Linked DNA regions of Homo sapiens: regions 1 and 2 are each linked to region 3. The links are contacts of gene promoters, found by promoter capture Hi-C in human tissues and cell types (Jung and others, 2019). All regions are on one chromosome and are shown on one strand. The core of a region is centred on a gene start or on the middle of the fragment in contact, and the rest is flanking DNA. Distances in the headings are between cores, read along the strand shown.

Region 1 (3,817 bases), core at 16-2,515, 250 kb after region 3:
GATAAGGATCATGCACCAGAAAGCAAATCAACTATGTTACTAAGCAACTATGTTGCTAAGCATACTAAGCTGACATGCTTTTCCTAACAAGACTTTCTCAATGAAAAAAGTAGTATGTTGATTTACATTCTCGTGCTCGATCTGCCAACCACACTGTGTAGCACCTGTGTGATTAGGCAACGTAAAGTTTCCTTCCATTCTTGAAACTCTCTGATTCTAAAACCCACGACTCTTGGCAGAAACTTATATGAGCCCCTGTTTGTTTTACATCTGATATGTGACTGTAGAAAGCCGGCTTGCTTGCAGAGAATTGGGTTTAGACTTTTAGGGCTCTTGGCTCAGCTTGCTCTGGTAACCTTCCTGATACGGCCATCTCCTGCCTCTTCCCTTTCCAGTGGTGTATGGCAGGCAAGTGCATCACAGTGGGGAAGAAACCAGAGAGCATTCCTGGAGGCTGGGGCCGCTGGTCACCCTGGTCCCACTGTTCCAGGACCTGTGGGGCTGGAGTCCAGAGCGCAGAGAGGCTCTGCAACAACCCCGAGTGAGTCCAGATAAATATATTTCCCTTCTCTCCACATGTGCTGGGGGCGGGATGGGGGGCAGTCTTGAATGGCATGACCTCAGTGACCCCAAGCCTCCTCCAGGTAAATTAAATGGGTTCCCAGGACAAAACAGAACAAGAAGATTCACAGAGAGTGGGGAAAAAAAGTGGTTCTGTTTTGTGTTGTTTCATTTCGGCTTGGCACTGGATTCTCACTAAAACTTGGATAAGTAAGCTGATTTTATCATTTGGGGAAATAAAGCAAATTTCTTTTAAATGTGCAATCTATGTGAAAGCCTCTAGGAGATTATACAATTAAATCTTTTTAAATAACTCAATTTTATCAGTAGAGATTAGTGAAACGCAATTTTGCTGATAAGATTGTAGCTTGCTTTCAATGATAATGAATACACAATTTTATGAGAATAATTCTTTCCTTAAGCAACTAGTAAAACAGGTACATTTTTGAGGACAATTATTTTTAATATTTTTCGATAAGGATTTTTATAAACCCTAAAGTTCCGCAGTGGCCTGTTAAGGATTCTGCAAATGTTATTTTACAAGTGACTTTCAATTGTTTAAGCAAATTGCTTAATTTTTCATATATTCTATTTGTATGATAATATTATATATGAGGTAAATTTAAACTTGCTTGTTTTCCAAATACACATTACATTCTTAATTTCATTATTTTCTGATATACTGTCTCCCAAGTAATTTCTTAAAAGTGTATATGTGATATCTCCTTTAAGTGGAAATTATATTGTTTCTTTTATCTAAATTTACATTCATCTACTTTGAAAAGTAGGAGTCACATTTTTTAAAAGGCGAGCAATAAAAGTGATTTTATCTCTCAATATCTCAATTCCAAAGGTTATTTATCCTTTTTGTTAATAACTGTATTACCTAGATGTATAGTATTTAAATATAAGTATATGTATATATGAATATATATGCATGTATACATTACATATATACATATATACACTATATATATTATATATTTTTTCTAAGGGTTAATAAGTTAGTATGTGTAAGGAATTTAACACAGTATCTACTACATAATAAAGTGTTAATAAATAGTAGTTATTATGAATCTTTATCATTTACCACATTTATAAGCATGCATTTGGAAATTCTTCACAAAATTATTTTAAAATTTCACCCTTTGATGAAAGTTGTTTTATTTAAGTACTGGGTTTCTGTGACTTTCAAAATTCAAAACCAAGAGTTTCTCATAGAGTATTTTGTTTTTAGAGAAAATTGTCATTTAATCGTTTGTTTCCATTTGATCCAGAAATGTGATTTCCATTTTCATTTGAGAGATCAGAAAAGAAAGGCAATTTGCTCTGGGACTTATTGTCAATGCTGTATATTCAGACACCACCAGTGTGAAAGTTCTTGGCAGGTTGGTCAGTGACTTGTGGCTATCAGAGAAGGGAACTCCTAGTTGAGGAGGTGAAGGATGAATCTCTAACCTGGCTTCAGGAGAAAGGTAGTTCTAATTCTCATCTCCAAGGCCACAGTTTGTCATAGAGTCTCTTTGGGTGAGTGGACATGCCTGTTCTTCATTGCCGGTTTGCTTAAATTCATTGCTAACACTGCCAATGGCACCGCATCATAGATTTGGATCTGTGGTTCAAGTCACAGATTCAGGCCAGTGCATGAGCCAGCTGATCTTGGGACTGCATCCTTGCTGTAGGTCAACTGTCTAGTGAGAACCCAGCAGAGCTCGGCTCATAAGAGGCTGTCAGTGATATTGATTGGATGGAAATGAATTGGAGACATACCAGGTCATAGAGTGTCCCTGCATCAGCACAAATAGAAAACCAGCCTCACCTTAAATAACAAGGACAATTCTTGGTACCTCCTAAAGGGAATCAACAAATTAAGAGCCTACTATGTGAACTGCCTTGGTCAAAACTCTTTCATGAGTGAGGAACAGAAGCTTACTCAGGCCACATTGAGGGAGGGGAGGTATAGAAAATCTCATGGGCATTCAAGGAGAACAAAGTACAGCAGAATCAACAAGAATTACAGCTGCAACCAGTACTTGACTAGACTGCCAGGATTTGAGTTCTCTGTCTCTCAGGATTTTGTGGTCAGGCAGTGTAACATAGTGGATAAGAGCTCAGGCTTTGGATCAAGGAAGACGACGATTCAAGTCTTGGCTTTGCCACTACCACCTGTGTCCTTTGGGGAGCTGTTCTAGCTTTCTGTGTCCCTGGAATACGATTTCATCTGGACTGCTCGCTCGACATGCCTTCTGCCTTTGCACTGAGAAGGACTTTCCAGTCGTCCTTTAAGACCATTCTCCAGGACAAGCCCTTCCGTAAATCCTTCCCAACTAGCCTCATTTCCATGGCTTTCCCCTTCACATAACTCTCATTGTACTTTCAGTCTGGGATACATAATTGCTGTCTTAAATTTTCTCTCATTTCTTATATAGCTCATTTTTTTCTCCTCAACCAAATTATAAACTTCTAGGAAGCATAGAGCATGGGTTGACCTTCATTTGCACTCTCTTCTCCCTGAACAGTGTTGAGCACATGGTAGTATATAAATGCTGGTTGATTATTATTCACGATAACCAAAAAAAATGCTCTCAGTTATTGATCTCTCATTCTGTGTTAGTTACTCTACTAAATCTGTGTGTGCATTGTCTCATGCAATACAACTTGTGAGATAAAAACTATTATGCTCATTTTACAAACGAAAAAAAACTGAGGCTCAGAGAAATGAGGTAACTTATTCAGATCCATCTAACAAAAAGATAATACCAAATTCGAACTCCAGGCTATTGGCACTCCTGCGATAGGAGGCACACTCCCTGATTCAGATACTGCAGCAAGATGGAGACCAGAAGGCATGCCTGGGAACCTTCTCAAAGGATAGTTTCTTCACGTCTCCCCTCTCCCATTTTGAGAGACCCATTGATCCTGACAGGAAGGCTGGTATGCCCTCAGGTGTATCACAAAGGAAAGAAAAATCAAAAAGTGATTTTTCTAAAATAAGATTAACTTATTCACCCATTGAATATCTATTAAGAGCCTCCTATGCCCAAAGTACTGTGAGGCACCACAGAGGACACAGAGCTTGGATTGTGCCATCAAAGAACTATCTTTGGGAATGATAGATTCAGGACGTGCAGGCAGCTGGCACACAAAGTGTCACTGAAGAGGAGAAAAAAATTACTGCTGGTGGAAATCCAGGAAGGATTCGTGAAGGAGGTAGCATTTATTTAGTTCTTCAAGCATGAGCAGTATGTAGACATGT
Region 2 (3,806 bases), core at 1,221-3,720, 140 kb after region 3:
TGGGACCAAGATCACACAGCTCATGCTGTTTCTATTCAACCATATCATACGTTTTTGATCCTATATTCTTTTAGAACCCATTTTGTCCATTTTCCAACAAAGGGATTATTTTTTCCCACCGCTTGGATTCTTGAGCTGCCAGCCAGTGGATGTGGTCTTGTGTATATTAGGGTTGTATTAGGCTCCTTCAAAAAGCATCTGAGAGGGATGAGGGACATGTAGGTTGATATTTCAGGGCTCTCAGGGTACAACTCCCTCTAGAAGTGGAACCCAGCTTCCAATTCTGCATGATCACAGCCCCCGTCCGTGGTTCCTGCTAGAACAAACATCTGTTCCCATTCCATTCTGTCCTCAGGACAGTGGCAGCTCCCTCACATAGCCCTTATCCTGTTACATTTATTCCCAATGATTCATTTTAATTTTGGTGAATGTTGCATTTTTTATATCCAGGTGTTTCTATTGATTCTCTGAAGCCTGTGTGCAGTGCACGGGTGTTCCCAATCTGGCTCCTGATGTATTTGCTTATGAAAACCAAACCATTATAGTGAAGTAGGTCACATTTTTGCAGTTCATTTGCTTTTAAGGCAAGTGCTTAAATTGGCCCTGATGACAGCTGTCATCACTATAGGTGAATATACTTATGATTATGAATCTCTCTCTTTCCTTACTTGGCCAATCTTTACAAATAAGCTGTCCAATATTGGAGCCACTAACTGCCAGTGGCTGCTTAAATTTAAGCTAATTAAATTTAAATAAAATTAAAAATTCAGCTTCTCTGTTGCATTGGCTATATCTCAAGTGCTCAACAGCTGCATGGGGTTAGTGGCTCCCAAATTGAACAGTGCAGATACAGAACGTCTTCATCACCACAGGAAGTTCTGTTGGACAGCACTGTTTTAGGGCAGAGGGACCAGCTCTGTTGTGTTGCTGTATCCCTGATACCTGCTTGGGTCATGGTAACTATCAGGCAGATACACCAATGTCTTCCTGGCTTCAGTCCATATTTCCTGAAACCACATGAGTTACTAGGGCTGCCCAGACTCATATGCAAAATCTTCATGAATTGATGACATCACTGGTCACTCTCTTCATTGGCTTCATGGAGGCCACTTAGGCATCACAGCAGAGGGTAGGGTGTGCTGGGTGAAATCTTCCCGGTGGTCCTACTCCCACCTCTCTTTATTCTGAGGCTTCTATAATCTCTTGACTTATACTTTCTGCTGACTTATTATTTTGGCTGTGTATTACATGAGAAAAAAACTGTCTCTTGCAAACCAGCAACAAGAAATAATAATTTGGAGAGCCTCTCATGGCTTTAAGACTGTGTCAAGTGTTCTGGAGTCTGTGGAAGTTCAATCTTGGCTTCGCCGCCTAAAAGCAGCCACTCTCAGTGGCCTCCGAAACACAGTGCTGGAATCCATAGCACCCATGGAAGTGCCGCTCCAGTGAGGGCTGTGTTCTGTGGGGAAGGGCTCTGTGACACAGGACTTCAGGTCTGGGCTCTAGGCCCAGTGCCACCAGAGGCCATGGGTTTGCCTCTTGAGTTGTGTGAACACTAAGTCCTTTTCAGCATAAAATTACCCTGGGCTTTGCTGTTCCCTTCCCTACTTGTTAATGAACATCAGCCTTGTCTTCATGGCTGGATTGCATATAAACCTTGAGGGCAGGGTCAGTACCTTTCTTAGCCCTCTCAGCACAGGGCTGACCCTATGATAGATATAGATTGATACTTTGTAAGAGGAATTTTTGGGGTGCTATTTTATCCTTTTTCCTGCCTATATGATGGGGAACAGGTGATGTCTTTTCCAGTGCTTCGTATACTATTGGGTACCTTGGGTACCTCTTTATCCTCAATTTTTTTTCTGTTCTTGATTTTGGAATGTGTTGTGTTGTCTTTGTCACTACAAGAATAAACAAATTCATCTGGTAACATCTGCGATTTTCAAATGAGTAAAAGGAATTTTCAAGGCAGGGTGATGGTTTCAGAAGCACAGTTCCATCACACAAGTCTGGGGTGCCTTCATGTGTCTTTTACACTATCATTGGCTCTTACCCTTCAGGCTTTACTTGTGGTACTCCAGAAGGCACAACAGCATGGGGTGGGTGACTCTTCAAGGTCTCTAGTCTCTGTGACTCTAGAACATTCTATTCACAAATTCCATATAAGATGCTGTCAGTTTCCCTCTAACCCCAGATCACTGTCACTAATTGAAGTAAAATATCACATACATCAAGATGACTAATATGTTGATGCAAGTTGAGGGGAGGGAGGAGAGATTACAGGCAACTCTTCTCACTCTGGGACTGTTCTGAAGAGTGCAACAATCCTTCCCCATCCTTCCTCATCAAAGAGCAGTGGAGGTCAAATACCAGCTGGCTCACACCAATGCATCTCAGCCTTTGGTCTTATCCCTACCATCTGGGCTTGCCATATTTCTCCTAAAGCAATATGAAGAGTCTGATTTAATAAGCCAGGGGAAATTCGCCCACTGTAACAAAATCTTTTTTATTGGTCAGCCCCTAACTCTTGAAATGAACTAGTAGCCTTTTTGTGTTTGTGCGTATATCAAATATTTTTTCCTCCAAAGAATTCAAAATAGGCTCAAAACTAACATTTCAGTGTTGGAAATCAGGATCATTGTTACCCTTGGGGGATGTTATTGATCTGGAGAGGGAACAGGGAGTCTCTCAGCTGCTGGTAATGTTCTATTTCTGCATCTAGGTGTTCTTTTTATAAAACATTTATGAGGATTTACAACTAGGATTTTGCACATCTCTCCATATGTTTATAATGCTTCAAAATAAAGTTTATTTAAAACAGTTTTTAGTAGACTTGGGAAGCATTCACAGATACTTATTTATTTATTTATTTATTTATTTTGAGATGGAGTTTTCTTCCCTCTTGTCTCCCAGGCTGGAGTGCAATGGCGCAATCTCGGCTCACTGCAACCTCCGCCTCCCAGGCTTAAGCAATTCTCCTGCCTCAGCCTCCCAAGTAGCTGGGATTACAGGCACGTGCCACCACACCTGGCTAATTTTTGTAGTTTTAGTGGAGACAGGGTTTCACCATGCTGTTTCACCATGTTGGCCAGGCTGGTCTCGAACTCCTGACCTTGAGTGATCCACCCACCTTGGCCTCCCAAAGAGCTGGGATTACAGGCATGAGCCACCGTGCCCAGCCAGATGTTTTTAACTTAGTTAAAACAAGTAGGTGAGTTTATTTCCAAAAGACAGTTAGCAGTATGCAGAGACTCCTGGATACTGGGTGGGAGAAGAGCAGATGGCACAGGAGGTGAAGGGGCATGTTTATCTTCGAGCTTTAGCCTAGGGCTCATCCTGCCCAGGTTCTTCTGAATGCCCAGTGCAAGTCCTCACTAAATTGGATACTTTTTCCTCAATTCCATTTCCATTCTCCTTTAAAGATGTAAGAGAAGTGGGCAGGTTGCAAAGGAGACCAGAATGGAAACTATTTTCTTTGGATAAGGTACAGACCTTGTAACAGAAGAAGGTGGTTCTCTTGGGCAATTTGCTTCAGGGAAAGTATGGGGCCAGCCCTTTCTTTGGAAAGCAAACCACGGGTGATTTTTTTCTAGCATGACCCTGGCTCCAGTTAGATGAGAAGAGATCAATAAACTGGGCCCACCTGGGTACTAGATGTACAAAGCCCTGTGTTTATATGTTGGGAGAGAGAAGAGGTGCAGAGCTCAGATGAGGAATTCCCCACCTCACTCTCCCTACAGCTGCTTCATCCCCTCTCCTACCTATTCCTTTCTCTGTGACAAACACACGAGATCCTGGGACCAGCA
Region 3 (3,709 bases), core at 532-3,031:
GAAAAGAAGCAAAAAGAATTCTAGCCCAAAGTTGTTCTTCAATGCCCTTGCAAATGCAGGTCATCATGCCTGTGTTATCTGAATGTCTTTTAACTCCAGTTGTGATCCTGCTTCCTAATGTTTACGTAACAGAAAAAAGGCTCAGAGTAGTTCTTTTACTTGCTTGTGACAACAAAACATGTTCTGTTACACGTAAAGGGGATTTAAGGTTGCAGATGGAATTAAGGTTGCTAATCAGCTGATTAGGAGAGTGTCCTGGTTAACCAGGATGAGTCTAATGTAATCGCAAGGGTCCTTATAAGTGGAAAAGGGAGGAAGAAGAGTGATGTGATGTGAGAAAGACTCAAAGGGCCATTGCTAGCTTTGATGGGGGAAGAGGGCCATGAGCTGAGGAATTCAGGCAGCCTCTAGAAGTTGGAAAAGGCAAGACAACAGATTCTCCCCTAGAGTCTTCAGAAATGAATGCAGCTGTGCTAACTCCTTGATTTTAGCCCAGTGAGACCAGTTTCAGATCAGAACTGTCACATAAGAAATTTGAGTTGTTTCAAGCCACTGAATTTATGGTAACTTGTAACACCAAAAATAGGAAACTAGCATATACCTCTCAAAGTCTTGGTGCCCATGTGTTCCACATCTGAGAGGACCACCTTGCTTTCAGACCACTGAGTTTGCCTTGGAGGCTCTGTCCCTATACAAGGTTGAGTAAGCTGGTATCCCAGAACTCTTGATTAACACATGTGGTTGGCTGGCAGCCAGGGAAAAGTCAATATTGGGGGCCGAATTCTTCCTGAATGGAGTAAGGAGGCCTGTTTCAGCTCAGAGGTGAAAAATCTTGGCTGGATTAGCCCAGTAAATTCTCAAGATGCCTGGCAAGCGTCCTGGATTGTGGCATTCTCTGACCGATGTAAAAGCTTGAGCCTCTGAATGAATGGACGCCCTCTCCAGGGTAGCCAGTTCAGGGAAACTGGGGAGATACCTTAACACCTTCCTGGGTTGACTTAATTCCTGGTTTCCTTTTGAGTGAATGGAGGTGGGCTAGGAAAGATGGGGTTCTAGAATCAGAAGAGCCGCACAGAGATCTGCAGACTCAGAGGGGCCCACAGGCATTTGCAGCAGTCACCTCATTGCACAGCTGAGGGGGCTTGTCTGAGGTCACATTAGCAGATTAGCGCAGCCCATTTCCCTTTGTGTGACTTGGCAAAGAGAAAAATCGCCTATTAGTTTTTCCAGTGGAAGAGAATCCCAGAGCGGTCCGAGTGGGTGAGGAGTCTTGATAGAGCGATGTTGGGAAAAGTTCAGGAACTTGGAGGAGAACAGCAGGGGAGGGGGCAGCGCTGAGCGCGGAAGGATGGAGGGAGTGGGGCCCCCCTCTGCCTCAACTCTGTTCTCCTCATTTTGAGCTTGTATTTAAGCACGCCGGGGGGCTGGCCTGGGGGCCTCTCACTCGCAGCTTCCTCCAGTGCCTCCCAGGGCGGCTCTCCCGGGTCTCCCCTATTTGGCCGGCTCGGCCAGCTGGGCCTGGCGTTCGGGGCGGGGCCGGAGGAGCGCGGGGGTGGGAGTCCGGGAGGAAGATGCACCGAGCGGGCGGGCTGCGAGGCCGCGGGGCATGCGGGAGGCGGAGGGGTGGGGACCGGGGTGGGCTGCGCCCTCCCGCTCTGGCCCATTCCACACCCCGCCGAAAGCGGACACTGTCAGCTGAATCACTCCCCTTTTAGGAGGAGGGAGGGGAAAAAGGTGTCTAGCTCCTTTCTGCTTAAAAAAGCACAGGGAGATCGCGGGCAGCTTTGCAGTCGCTGCCTTCTCGCGCCTGACCATGCACCCCTGCATCTTCCTGCTGGGCCACAGGCGAGCGCTTTATTTCTGGAGCTGAGGGCTAAAACTTTTTTGACTTTTCTTCTCCTCAACATCTGAATCATGCCATGTGCCCAGAGGAGCTGGCTTGCAAACCTTTCCGTGGTGGCTCAGCTCCTTAACTTTGGGGCGCTTTGCTATGGGAGACAGCCTCAGCCAGGCCCGGTTCGCTTCCCGGACAGGAGGCAAGGTTAGTGACTCTTCTTTATTTCTTTTTAAAACAGTGGTGGTAAGACTTGCGGGAATTTTGTTGCTCCCCTTTCCCTTCCCCCACCCGGCAGAACTGAACTCTGAAAAGCCATTTGGCTGCGTTGTAAGGAAATCTGGGCTGGGACCTCAGGAGCCTAGGCTTTCTCAGAATTCAGTGCTTAAGGTGATGAGTCCTTCATTCTTATAGAAAGGTGAGTACCTCACTCTTTTACAGGGATGACACTGCAGTCTTTGAAAGACCCAAGAGGTAGCTGGTAACTTTTTCTCTTTTGTCTCCTCTTTGAATGCTGTACTGTTTTGATCCCCTATTTTTCAGACTCTAAACATGGAAAATTTTTTTTTTAAGTGCTAACTGGCTACTGGCCGTCATTGCAGTGTTTCTAGTTAGTTTTAAACCTCTGGTCAGGAAAGGGGAAATGTGATTCTTCCCCCCTACTGAGCAGGCTTGGCTGTGTTTTGGTTTCCTGGAAAGATTTAGGGTTGTATTTTTGAAAGAATAGTCCTTTTGGGGGAACTATACCTCCATAAGGGCTCACTTTTTCCTGTCCTGTCTCACTGACCACAGCTGGCTGCTTCTCTTTATGAATTTCTGAACTCATGTTATTGTAGGAAGCATTGGAAGCGTTCTGGTGGACAATTTGTTGTTGTTGTTTTATTCTTTTAAGCCTAACAGTCAGCAGTTTATTGGACTTGGAAGGGTCAGAGGCACCTTCATGTTTGGTGGGGGGTTCATTGTACCTCTGGGGGTAAACAGTCCTAGCAGCAGCAATGGCCCGCGTGGCACTCTGTGTCAGCCCATCCGATCACTGGCAATAGCCTTCCAGGGTGCAGGTACCAGTGTTGCTGTCCCTGCTGTACAGATGAGGATGCTGCAGCTTGGAGAGCTTATGAGGCCAGCTAATGTAGAGCAGAGTTTTCAGCTCAGGTAGTCTGACTCTTAGAATCATGCAGCACTGTCCTGTAGCAATAATAGGGACACACACGCACACACACACGCATATGCACCCACACGCATGCACACGCACACAGAGCACTGGGTTAGCATGCACTAAGTCCTGTGTTTGCTGACTGTGCTGAAGCCTCGGGAAGTGTCCTCCATGACTTTCTGACATCCCTTTAATTCCCAAGGCCACTCGGGTGATAAACATCACCAGCCTGTCCTTGTTTAGGATTTCTAAGCAGGGTTTTCTGCTCATGTTGTAAAATTCAAATATTGCTGGACAACTCATCTGCTGTGGCTTCAAGACGTATCAGAAGCAAGTCCCTCTCTTTGCTTTACTTGGAAAGCTGGAGCCAGCAAACACTGGGGTTAGATGTCAGTCAGCCAGCACTCACTTGTGTAAACGGTCCAGATACAATCTCCCACCCCCAAGTTTAAAATAGCAGGGCTTGTTGTTCTTTGAAAAACAGTTCCTTTGTGAAAAGTCTCCCTTCTGGGGCAGCACAAACAAAGCCTGCAAGCACTTCCCAGGGCATTTGGAGATGATTTCGTTCAAAGACACACATTCTCCTGGGTTGGTTTTCAGCTCTGCTCCACATCTTCTTTGTAAGGGAATTCAGCTTGGTGTGAAGCAGACACCACGGGGCCATGGTTTTTGCTCTCTGGAAAGTGAGATATGATTATTTTCCCTAGTCACCTCTATCTAGA

What was found. Contacts are between HindIII fragments. The study calls those that stand out against the background at their distance.
Region 1: a fragment that was not itself captured here is called in contact with the fragment with the promoter of ADAMTS12 in region 3 in 4 of the 25 tissues and cell types used here (H1 embryonic stem cells, lymphoblastoid cells, mesenchymal stem cells and 1 more).
Region 2: a contact is called between a fragment that was not itself captured here and the fragment with the promoter of ADAMTS12 in region 3, in 2 of the 25 tissues and cell types used here (lymphoblastoid cells and mesenchymal stem cells).

What each region holds. Positions count from the first base shown.
Region 1 is chr5:33,638,534-33,642,350 of GRCh38, reverse strand. ADAMTS12 (ADAM metallopeptidase with thrombospondin type 1 motif 12) reads left to right here. Exons shown (of 24, transcript NM_030955.4): 11 at 396-541. Among named protein-coding and RNA genes, the nearest start is that of TARS1, 200 kb to the right of the region's middle. The HindIII fragment of the contact is 4,544 bases long and covers 1-3,537 here.
Region 2 is chr5:33,753,936-33,757,741 of GRCh38, reverse strand. The region is part of intron 2 of ADAMTS12 (ADAM metallopeptidase with thrombospondin type 1 motif 12); the gene reads left to right. Among named protein-coding and RNA genes, the nearest start is that of ADAMTS12, 140 kb to the left of the region's middle. The HindIII fragment of the contact is 8,072 bases long and covers 1-3,806 here.
Region 3 is chr5:33,890,062-33,893,770 of GRCh38, reverse strand. ADAMTS12 (ADAM metallopeptidase with thrombospondin type 1 motif 12) reads left to right here and starts at 1,781. Exons shown (of 24, transcript NM_030955.4): 1 at 1,781-2,041. The coding sequence starts at 1,915. RefSeq lists enhancers at 1,498-1,997, 1,998-2,499. The HindIII fragment of the contact is 6,841 bases long and covers 43-3,709 here.